Regions from separate parts of the Homo sapiens genome. Here region 2 is linked to region 1. The links are contacts of gene promoters, found by promoter capture Hi-C in blood cells and fetal thymus (Javierre and others, 2016). All regions are on one chromosome and are shown on one strand. The core of a region is centred on a gene start or on the middle of the fragment in contact, and the rest is flanking DNA. Distances in the headings are between cores, read along the strand shown.

Evidence for each region. Contacts are between HindIII fragments. The CHiCAGO score rates a contact against its expected background, and 5 or more counts as called.
Region 2: a fragment that was not itself captured here is called in contact with the fragment with the promoter of ATP6V1H in region 1 in 1 of 17 cell types (total CD4 T cells); the score reaches 5.3 in total CD4 T cells.

The regions. Positions count from the first base shown.
Region 1 is chr8:53,840,323-53,845,657 of GRCh38, forward strand. It overlaps ATP6V1H (ATPase H+ transporting V1 subunit H), which reads right to left and starts at 2,923. Exons shown (of 14, transcript NM_015941.4): 1 at 2,712-2,923; 2 at 1,256-1,403. The coding sequence starts at 1,368. RefSeq lists enhancers at 2,872-3,011, 4,309-4,358 and a silencer at 3,082-3,231. The HindIII fragment of the contact is 7,596 bases long and covers 1-5,335 here.
Region 2 is chr8:60,518,180-60,523,514 of GRCh38, forward strand. All of the region lies in intron 1 of RAB2A (RAB2A, member RAS oncogene family), which reads left to right. Among named protein-coding and RNA genes, the nearest start is that of RAB2A, 3.9 kb to the left of the region's middle. RefSeq lists an enhancer at 52-241. The HindIII fragment of the contact is 2,639 bases long and covers 695-3,333 here.

The DNA of each region.
Region 1 (5,335 bases), core at 1,673-4,172:
CTGTCTCTACTAAAAATACAAAAAAATTAGGCGGGCAAGGTGTCAGGTGCCTGTAATCCCAGCTACTCGGGAGGCTGAGGAAGGAGAACTGCTTGAACCCGGGAGGCGGAGGATGCAGTGAGCCAAGACTGCCCCACTGTACTCCAGCCTGGGCAACAGAGTGAGACTCTGTCTCAAAAAAAAAAAAAAATAGTGAATTAAAATGATCTATTAATACATCTGACTTCCCTACTAGAGTTTTAGTTCCTTCAGGGACAGTACTCTGTATGGAATTTTTGTAGCCTCAAAGCCTGGAAAAATGCCTCAAACTTGGCAGGTAATCAATAAATGTTTGATGAGTGATTAAATTAACAGAAATTAAAGGATCATTTTTGTACATTATAGATCCCTCCTACAACAACACAAACTATTAATACTAATATAAAATTAACACTAATATAAAACTAGATTCCTCAATTTGTTTTTCAAAATGCATATGCAAATCTGAACTGAATTCCTTGGTAACTCAGTTATAAATATACCAAAATAAATATGAAGTCAATAAAATATGGTCAAGAATACATGAATGCTCACTTTATAGATAAATACAAAATACTGAAACATCAGCACATTAAATATTAATACATACAAGAAAGAAGGGGGAACTAAAATGTATTGTATTCAACATACTAATGCTTGTATTCTACTGTGCTAATAAATACATTATTTCAGCAACAAGCCTGTGGGGTATGTCTCCCCATTTCACATTTTACTTTATTGAGCCTCAGAGAAGTTAAGTGATTTGCTTAAGATCACCAAACTAATAGCAAGAACCAAAACTCAAATCCAAGTCTCTCAACTCAAATATCTGTGCTTCTTATTAGTTGTATGCACCACTCTAAAAAGGCCACCTGCCCCCATGCTGATTGCCAGGGCATATCAGACCAGTCTAGCAGGTTTTGCCCCTCATCCCCTTCCTCCCTCCGTTAGCCCAAGGACATTCCTCCTATGTTTCCCACTTATTCCAAAAGTACTTCCCCAGGCAGCCAGAGAAGGTCAAAAGCACCATAAGCCGCTCTGCTTCCCCACTAGGGCGCCAAGCTGTTTCCACCCCACTACACTTAACTCCCTAAGACAGCTAATTATTCTGAAGAGGAAGTGTTTCTTCCACATTTTTCAGTATTTTCCCTGTATTTCTCTCATAGAAGCATGACCATGAAAAAGTCTGATGCAAAAGCATATGACTGTCCATGATTCACAGCAAATTGGTACTTACTGAAGATAGGATTGCCAGTTGACTTTGTTTGCACGAACTTCTGCAGCCTTGGCAGCAATAATATTGGTGGGGACAGCAGCATCCACAGCACCTCGGATATCCATTTTGGTCATCTAAACTTCGTAATCTTGAATGTCTTTCAACAAATCTTCAATTTTGATGCAAGGTAAAAACAGAATACGAGGTGTTTCTTTTTTTTACAACTATTAATATTATGATTATGAATATCGTGATCACTTTAATCTCCCCAGGCATTCAACTCAAATATTAAATGTCCTAAGTCTGAAAGTATCATTATATTTCAAATATTGTCCACTGCTCCATAAAAGAGTTCTTTAGGCTTTTGCTTTTCTAGAAAAATTTTTTTCATTATTGGCACTAACACTGCAGTAAGATTTTTAAAGCAATCACCTAATATACTGAAATCAGAAATCATGATTAAATAGAATAGGTATAAATATGGGAAAAATTGTAAATTTATACAATTGTGGTTAACTTTTCTCATAGAGAAACAATAAGAATATGAATAGTACGGATAAGGCTAGTTTTATAAACATTTACTAAGCATCATTTTGAAGTGGCACATTAAAAATTCTAAGTCCTTTCGAAAATTACTCAAATTAAAATACACAAAGTGGGAACATAATTTCTTAGAAGACAGTGCTTTCCTTTTCAAACAAAATTCATAGTATTTGCAAAATCAAAATTCGGAGAGAAAGTTTTAGAACAAATACATATTACAATTTAGGTAAGCCAACAATGGCGGTCTGGCTGGACGACAAGAACCTACAATAATGAAATTCTATGTAATTCTCACTCCTAAACTTCCAGATACAAACGACTGATTTTAACACAAAGCAAAATACAGGTTGCCACTTGCAAAACATAAATTCACGGCCATGGCCACAAAGAAGTTAAAATCCTACCCAAAATTATATTCCGGGTTTCCAACGATCTTAATCAATTTGGAACTTAATCTCTGTATCTGAAGATTTGCTGTATAAACAACCCTGGGCAGCGCGAACGACAGGGCCCAGGAAAAAACAGGCTTCAACTGGGCCAGGCTGGAACTCTGCAGCCAAGGAGGCTCAGCCTCAGCGGCCCGTCCTGGCGTAGCTCAAGGTGTCTCTAGACAATTACCTAAGTCCCTGAACTACTCGCACCCCCAGCGATCCAGGGCCGTGGCCCAGTCCTGGAGAAGGTATACTTTTTACCCCTCCCCCTCCACTCTCCTGCCCGCCCCTGACGTTTCTTCCCCCTGCGAGAAAGGCTCCAGAATTTCGCTTAATAAACCTGGTTGAGGCCTGGAAGAAAAGCAATCTGGCAACCGGGGGCCGAAGAACAGGAGAGGACCAAGCGGCGAGACACCAGCACGCACCAGGCAAGCTGGAGAAACTGCAAGAGTCGCCTGACCTGGTCTGCAGCCTGAGACCAAACAACGCGAGGGCGGCCTTACCTCGCGAATCCTCGGGACCCCACAACGCACCCAAAGCCGGCAGGGAGGGTGGTCCGGGGCGCCGGGGACACAGCCGGGCTGGGGCGCCGCGTCAGAGCCAAGTAGGCGTCTCCTGTCAGGTCCAGAGGTCTGAGCAGTGGAGGGAGACTCCGGGAGCCGAAAGTGAAGCGGGTCCCGCACCAAGGAGACGTTGAGGGCCGCACAGGTAGAAGGAAGCCAGGGCGGCCGCAGTAGAATGACAGAGGCGCCGGTCACGTGATCGGAGGCACGTGACTGCTGCGGAAGGCGGAAGCCGGGAGACTCCAAAGCAGCAAGAGGAGGGGCGGGCGCTGCGGCGGGGCTTGTTCGGTGCGGACAACTGGATTCCCGAGTCCGTAACTTGGGCCCCGGAGCGACGCAAGGGTCGGGCCCCAGCCAGCCAGGGCAGGTGGGAGGCGGCGAGCGTGGCGGGCACGCTAAGACCCGCCGCCCCCAGACCTAGTGCCTCGCCTAGGGGAGGCCGAGGACCTCCGCCCGGAAGCAGCTAGCAGAGGCCAAAACGCTCTTATTGTAACCGTCATTCTTTTGAAAAGTTTGATTTCGCGCTTTCAAATTAATTTCCATTTGGATTTAACAGCTCCATGAAGCAGGCGTTCTTATTCTGATTTTAAATAGAAAACTCGGGCTGAGAAGTGGGTCTGAAAAGCTCTCTTAACCTAGGGTTGCACATTTAGCAAATAATAAATTCCATTGCAGTATTTACTTTTATACTAAAAAGTTATTCGTTGTTTATCTAAAATTCACATTTACAGGACGTCTGGTATTTTATCCAACAGTCCCATCTGGAGCCCAAATTTTCCCCTAGTCCAGGCCTCAGCAACTGTCTTTGCCTTAAAGTAAGAATGTACTGCCCTGGAGGTGAAGTATATATGATAGCATGTTTTCCTTAAAAAGCAATGAAAGGGGCCGGGCGCGGTGGCTCACTCCTGTAATCCCAGCACTTTGGGAGGCCGAGGCCAGTGGATCACCTGAGGTCTGGAGTTCGAGACCAGCTGACCAACATGGTGAAACCCCATCTCTACTAAAAATACAAAAAATTAGCTGGGTGTGGTGGCGCATGCCTGTAATCCCAGCTGCTTGGGAGGCTGAGGTAGGAAAATCACTTGAACCCAGGAGGCAGAGGTTGCAGTGAGCCAAGACCGCACCATTGTACTCCAGCCTGGGCAGAAAAAGCAAAACTCCGTCTCAAAAAGAAAAAAAAAAAATTCTTTGAAAGGGATTTATAACCAACCCATTTTTACTCGTAAAATTAAAGTCAGAATAATCAAAATCATGCATTGATTATGAATAAAGATATATAATAACAGTGTCAAAGATTGTACTAGGTCACTCATTCTGTCTTAGCCAGAAGTGAAAGTCTGTTGTTTTGAAAGCAAATCTAAGGGGAAAAACTTTCATAAAAGAGAAAAAGAAACCGATCGTGTACTAAGAAACTCCCAAAAGCTGAAACAGCATGTTTTCTGTGTAACTGAGCAAAGCTGGCAGTGAGGCCTGATCTTCGCATTTCCTTTCTGTATCACCTAAGCCACAGACTGGCGTGATACAGCGAGTCTCATCAGATTTCGGGAGGCTCTCCTCTTTTCCTAGAGGCACAAAGTTATGGAACAAAATCAGGAACAGTGCAGTGAGCAGAGGGGACTGCTTCACAGGCACCTGGGCTGGCGTTCTCCGAGCATCACAACATTACCAGACAATTTGCCTGGAGTAGGGAGAAGAGAAGAGGCAGGTACTCCCGGCATTATCTCTCTTAACATTATTTCTGTAACACTTCTATCGGAGATTTTTCTTGGTCCATTCAGGCTCCTGTAACAGTGCTGTAGACTGGGTGGCTTATAAACAACAGAAAGTCATTTTCTCACAGTTCTGGAGGTTGAAAGTTCAGAATTGGGGTGCTATCATGGTGAGGTTCTGGGAAGGATTGTCCCAGGTTGCAAACTGCTGTCTTCTCATTGTAGCTTCACATGGTGGAGAGGTGAGAGAGCTCTCTGGGGTCTCTTTCATAAGGACATTAATTTCATTCATGAGAGCTCCACCCTCATGACCTGATCATTTCCCAAAGGTCCCACCTCCTAATATCATCACCTTGGGAGTTAGGATTTCAACACAGGAATTTTGGGGAGACACAGACCATAGCGGTGATCTCAGTTACCTAATTATATAACATACCTGGGGTCCCCATACCCTGGGCCACAGACTGGTGTGGTCCATGGCCTGTTAGGAACCCGGCTGCACAGCAGGAGGTGAGCGGCGGGCAAGCCCCATTACCGCCTAAACTCTGCCTCCTGTCAGATCAGCAGCGGTAGTAGATTTTCACAGAAGCATGAACCCTATCGTGAACTGCACATTGCAAGGGATCTAGGTTGCACACTCTGTATGAGAATCTAATGCCTGATGAGCTGAGGTGGAACAGTGTCATCCTGAAACCAGCCCCATCACCTCCCACCCTGTCTGTGGAAGAATTGTCTTCCTCGAAACTGGCCCCTGGTACCAAAAGGGTTGGGGACTGCTGTATTATGACATAAGAAAGATAACCTTTGAGCTACTTTGTAATTTCTTTGAAATTGAGCTTCAGATTTGTTATTTAG
Region 2 (5,335 bases), core at 764-3,263, 6.7 Mb after region 1:
ATTTGGCATTACTTTGAATCTAATAATAAACATAAAGATTGTTTAGATGTTGCAACTATTAATATACCAGAGTCTGATTTCAGTGGTTACTCTTGCACAACTTTGGACCCTTTGCACAACTTCGGTCATGTAAGCAGCAGTTTGTAGTTGAACTAATGATGTGGCAGGTTCTATAAGTAACTAAAGAAGCATGTTGGCCGGACGCGGTGGCTCACACCTGTAATCCCAGCACTTTCGGAGGCCGAGGTGGGGGATCACCTGAGATCAGGAGTTCGAGACCTGCTTGGCCAACGTGGTGAAACCCCGTCTCTACTAAAAGTACAAAAGTTAGCCGGGCGTCGTGGCAGGCGCCTGTAATCCCAGCCACTTGGGAGGCTGAGGCGGGAGGATCACTTGAGCCCGGAAGGTGGAGTTTGCAAAAAAAAAAAAAAAAAAAAAAAAAAAGCATATTTATTGCTGCCTGAAAGAAAAAATTTCTGCTAGATACATGAGTTTTCAGCAAGGTTTTCTGATGCGTGCGTGCGTGTGTGTGTGTGTGGAAATTGGATTTGTAAACTTTAAAAGAAAAATGCTGTGGTGTATTTGGAAGAAGGAGAATTCTAAAGTCTTCTGGCAAAATTTCATTTAGGCTGTAAAAACAAGATTGGAGAGGAATGCCACATTAACTGTAATATGAGTGGGTTTGAGAAATAGAAGCTTGTGACTGTGGCATTTGGCTATCTCATTAGTGGTGAAAATTCAAATCAGACTTTGCTGGTTGCCTTTTTTCAGTTTTTTATTTGAGGCTGTACTGTGGATAAATAAAGTATTGTGCATGGAGTAGTGGGGCTACAAATCCTAACAAGTTAATGCTCTGTTCTCTTGGAATTTGCTCTTATCCAAAAGCAGTCCCCACGCAATTCAAAGGGAAGACACTTCTTTCTTGTCATTGCTGCTGATACGACCTAGTTCAGGAACAGAATTCTTGACACTGTTATAGTCTGCAGCAGTACTTCTCCCTACTCCAGTTCAGCCAGTGTAGTTTACTGTCAGTTTAGTCATCCTGAAGCATGAATGTCAAAAGGCTACTCCTGTTTGCTCACAATTTTTAGTTTGACCTTCAGTGAACTCTATATTTTAGCCCCTATCTACATTTCTCGCCTTCTTTCCCGCTATTCCCCACCTTGCTTCTGCCATTGAGTCCCAGTGACTGATTTTGGTGTTTTTTTCCTGGGCACTGCTAGTCTCTATTCTTAGAGTGCTTTCCGGCACAATCTCTCCCTGTGGAAGATCCATCAGTCCTTCAAAGTCTTATCTGAGTTTTCCGTAATGCCTTCACAGTCAACATATATTAAGCTCTTATTGTGTGAAGATTTTCACAGTATCCTGGCTGAAAGTGACTACTCCGTTTCTGAATTTATGTTTCTCACTTTGTGTCATTCTTCTGATATTGATCCCAGACTTTTCTGTTGTATAGATACTTGTATAGGCACCTCTATTATGTAGGTACCTATTATATACTTCTTGAAGTCAGAAAAGATGTTTTGTATGGCTCTGTATTTCTTTCAGGAAGAGCGTAGTAGAAGGTAGGCCCTGTATATTTAACTAATAAGAGAGGAGCCAAACAGGCTACTATATTCCTGTTTGTATATATTAATAACTTAACAGAAGTGGTGTCGTTGTTGTTGTTGTTGTTGCCCAGTTCTGCCACCTTCTTGCTTACTAATTTGGGCAAAATCCTTTACCATATTTCTTTAATGCAGAGTGTACCCATAGTTGTAAGATACACTCAGTGTGGCCCTCCCCTAGAAAAGATGACTTTAAAATCAGTAATGTGAGATCCACTTTGATTTTTTAAAAAGTCAGGGTCAAAAACATGCATCTTAGAATGAAGGAAATCACCTAATTTTTCTGTTTCCCTGTTTCCGTAACCTATAACCTTCTCTCAGTATGTGGGATAAAATGAGGATAAATGTGAAAGTACTTTGATTTCTCAAAGGAAAGGAACAATGCACATTTTTCCTTTTCAGAATTCCCTCTTTAATAGAAGAGGTTTTAAAAACTTTTACATGATCATGATGATACTATTGAGCTGTTTTCTTACTGTAAGACTAAATGCAGTTAAAATGTAGCTTTAAATTTTTTCCTTGTTCCTGTCTTGTTTCTGAATCATTTAGTAAAATGTGTCATTTAAATCTAGATGTAAAGTGGAAAGTGGTTTTTAATAAGCAGTTAATTATCAAGCATGGAGAGAAAAAATACGAATCTATAGTAATTTTTCTTCTGAAATTCTAGCATCTGCCAACCATTTTAACCTTATCACTAACCCTCCCTGCTGCTCAACGCTCAGCAAGGTAAACAAAGGCACAGGTTTGGTTGTGTTCTTATTTCTGCTAATATCTGAAGCACTCCTTCTTGTTCTTCCCTATCAAAAAAAGTTATGTCAAAAATTTTTGTCACCTGGCCAACTCCTTTTTATCCATTCTTTTGAGAGTTTAACAAATCCTACCACTCCCTGTTGCATTTTATGCTGGTCCCCTCCTCTCTTCCCTCATTCTGTTTCCCTTCTCTTCAGTCCCAGTCCCACTTACATTTTATTTTTTATTTTTCACTCTTATGTATATACCCACCACTTCCATTTTATTTTATTTTACTTATATTATTTATCTATCTATTGAGACATGATCTCTGTTGCCCAGGCAGGAGTGCAGTGGCACTATCACGGCTCACTCACTACAGCTTCAGTCTCCTGGGCCTAAGCAATCCTCCCACCTAAGTCTTCCAAGTAGCTGGGAACACAGGCACATGCCACCATGCCTGGCTAATTTTTAAATTTTTGTAGAGATGGGCTCTCACTGTGTTGCTCAGGCTGGTCTCAAACTCCTGGGCTTAAGCCATCCTCCCACTTCAGCCTCCCAAAGTGCCAGATTACAAGCACAAGCCACAGCTCTCAGCCCCACTTGCATTTTAAATTATCTTTTTAGTTAGGAAGGTCTTTGCCTTTGTCTTAGATGCCAGGGTACACCATTGAGTGTCAGATTTATTTAATAGTTAAGTGGATGGATCCTTGAGGGGAGGCACTAGGTGATGTTTCAGCTGAAATTAGAATGATGAGTAGGCACCGCCAGAGTGGGCATGGGGGAATGTCTGGTATGTAGTTGAAAGTTTATTTCTGGCTCAGGAGAGAGTAATCTGGGATAGAGACTTGGGAGCTAATAACATAAAATGGAGTCCCTATTACCTGAGAGTTCATTTTCTGAGCTTTTGAAATTACAAGGTTATGTAGGGAAGAAAAATTCTCATGATATGAAAATAATTATTAATAAGTTATCACCTTAAAAAATTAACTACTCAAGCTTACTTCTAATTCCCATCCTCCTGATTGGCGTAGGGGCTTGCTGATCATAATATAGTTCAAATTAGTTGCAAAGTGAAATTATGTATCATGCTAAAATTGCAAGCATTTGTTTCTTTTTTTTGAGATGGAGTTTTGCTCTTGTCACCCAGGCTGGAGTGCAGTGGCGCCATCTGGGTTCACTGCAACCTCCACCTCTTAGGTTCAAGCGATTCTCCTGCCTCAGCCTCCCCAGTAGCTGGGATTACAGGCGTCTGCCCCCACGCCCAGCTGATTTTTGTATTTTTAGTAGAGATGGAGTTTTGCCATGTTGGTCTGACTGGGTCTCGAACTCCTGACCTCAGGTGGTCCACTCACCTCGGCCTCCTTAAGTGCTGGGATTACAGGTGTGAGCCACCGCGGCAAGGCAGCATTTGTTTCTTTGATGCAAGTGATTTGGAGCATTGGTTCACATGCAAAACCATTGACAAATGGGGATCTGACAAAGTTGTCCTCCTGGAATGAAGTAGGTGGTGATTGTTCATTGAATGAATTGACAGATGAAAGCTTGGATGTAATGGTGGGAAATACTAGTGTTCATGGGGCACATGGGGAAAGTTATCAGCATAGTAGGCTAACAAGGAATAATCAAAAGAGCAAGAGAGACCTGGGCAGTACAGTGTCATGGAATCTGCAGAGAAGGCAGATCCCAGAGAGGGAGTGGTTACCAGTGTCATGTGCAGTAGAGGTCAGGGACTATTGGTTGAAATGGTAGGAAGACATTAGTGCTTTGACACAGTGTTTGATTCAGATGTCAGTGAGGGGGAGAACTAAGGTGTATTTTCATTTATGTTGTTAAAAAACTGTGGATTTTTATATATGTGTAAATAAAAAAAGTCCCAAGACTACACACTTAACCGTTACTTCTGGGGAGGAGAGTAGAATTATATGCTTATATTGATTACACTGAAAGAGTTGGTGTTGGTGAAATGGGGCTTTTTATATTGTAGGGTCCTCCTACTTTCTTTTTTAAAAAAAAATTTAAACAATATCACACATAGTATTGGTGGTTTTACAAAAAGAGTTATTGGGAAGTTACAAGTAGAACCATGCATGGGTTATTTTATTGAAGAATAAATGTGAGTGTGTGTTTGTATTTTAAGATAGGAGAGACTTGAGGTTGAAAGGTTAAATACAAGAGAAGGGGAGGTAAGGAGCAAAGTTGTAGAGGATTTGGGGAAGGATTGGGGAAGGAAGGGGATTAGATTCTCAATAGCTCTAGAGAAAAACAGAAGGAAGACCTCTTCCTGTGGGAGACTCAAATTTGAGTTTCTTTAGATTCTTGTGAATCACTGGAGTGTTTGTTTAAAAAAAAAAATATTCAGCAGCCCAACCCCTAGAGATTTTGATTGACTAGATTTGAGGTGGAGCTGAATGTTGCAAAACCTGCGGCCAGAAGTACTAGTCATTTTATTTTATTATATAAGCAGATTTGTTAGAATTACCTTCAAAAAACAACCTGGGAAGTTCAGAGGTAGAAAAATTCTATTAAAGCTTTTTTATTGAGATGTAGCATGCATATAAAAGAATATATAAAATACATATACACAGTTTAATAGTTTTAAAGAATAATGATAAACACCCATGCAAAAGGACTCCACATTCTTTTTCTTTTTTTTTTTTTCTTGAGACAGTCTCGCTGTCACCCAGGCTGGAGTGCAGTGGCGCAATCTCAGCTCACTGCAACTTCTGCCTCCTGGATTCACGCCATTCTCCTGCCTCAGCCTCCCGAATAGCTGGGACTACAGGCGCCCGCCACCACGCCCGGCTAATTTTTTGTATTTTTAGTGAAGACGGGCTTTCACTGTGTTAGCCAGGATTGTCTTGATCTCCTGACCTCGTGATCCGCCCGCCTCTGCCTCCCAAAATGCTGGGATTACAGGCATGAGCCACCACGCCCGGCCAAGGACTCCACATTCTTACATATGTCTCTTTCTCAACCAGTTTTCCACTGGCCTGAAT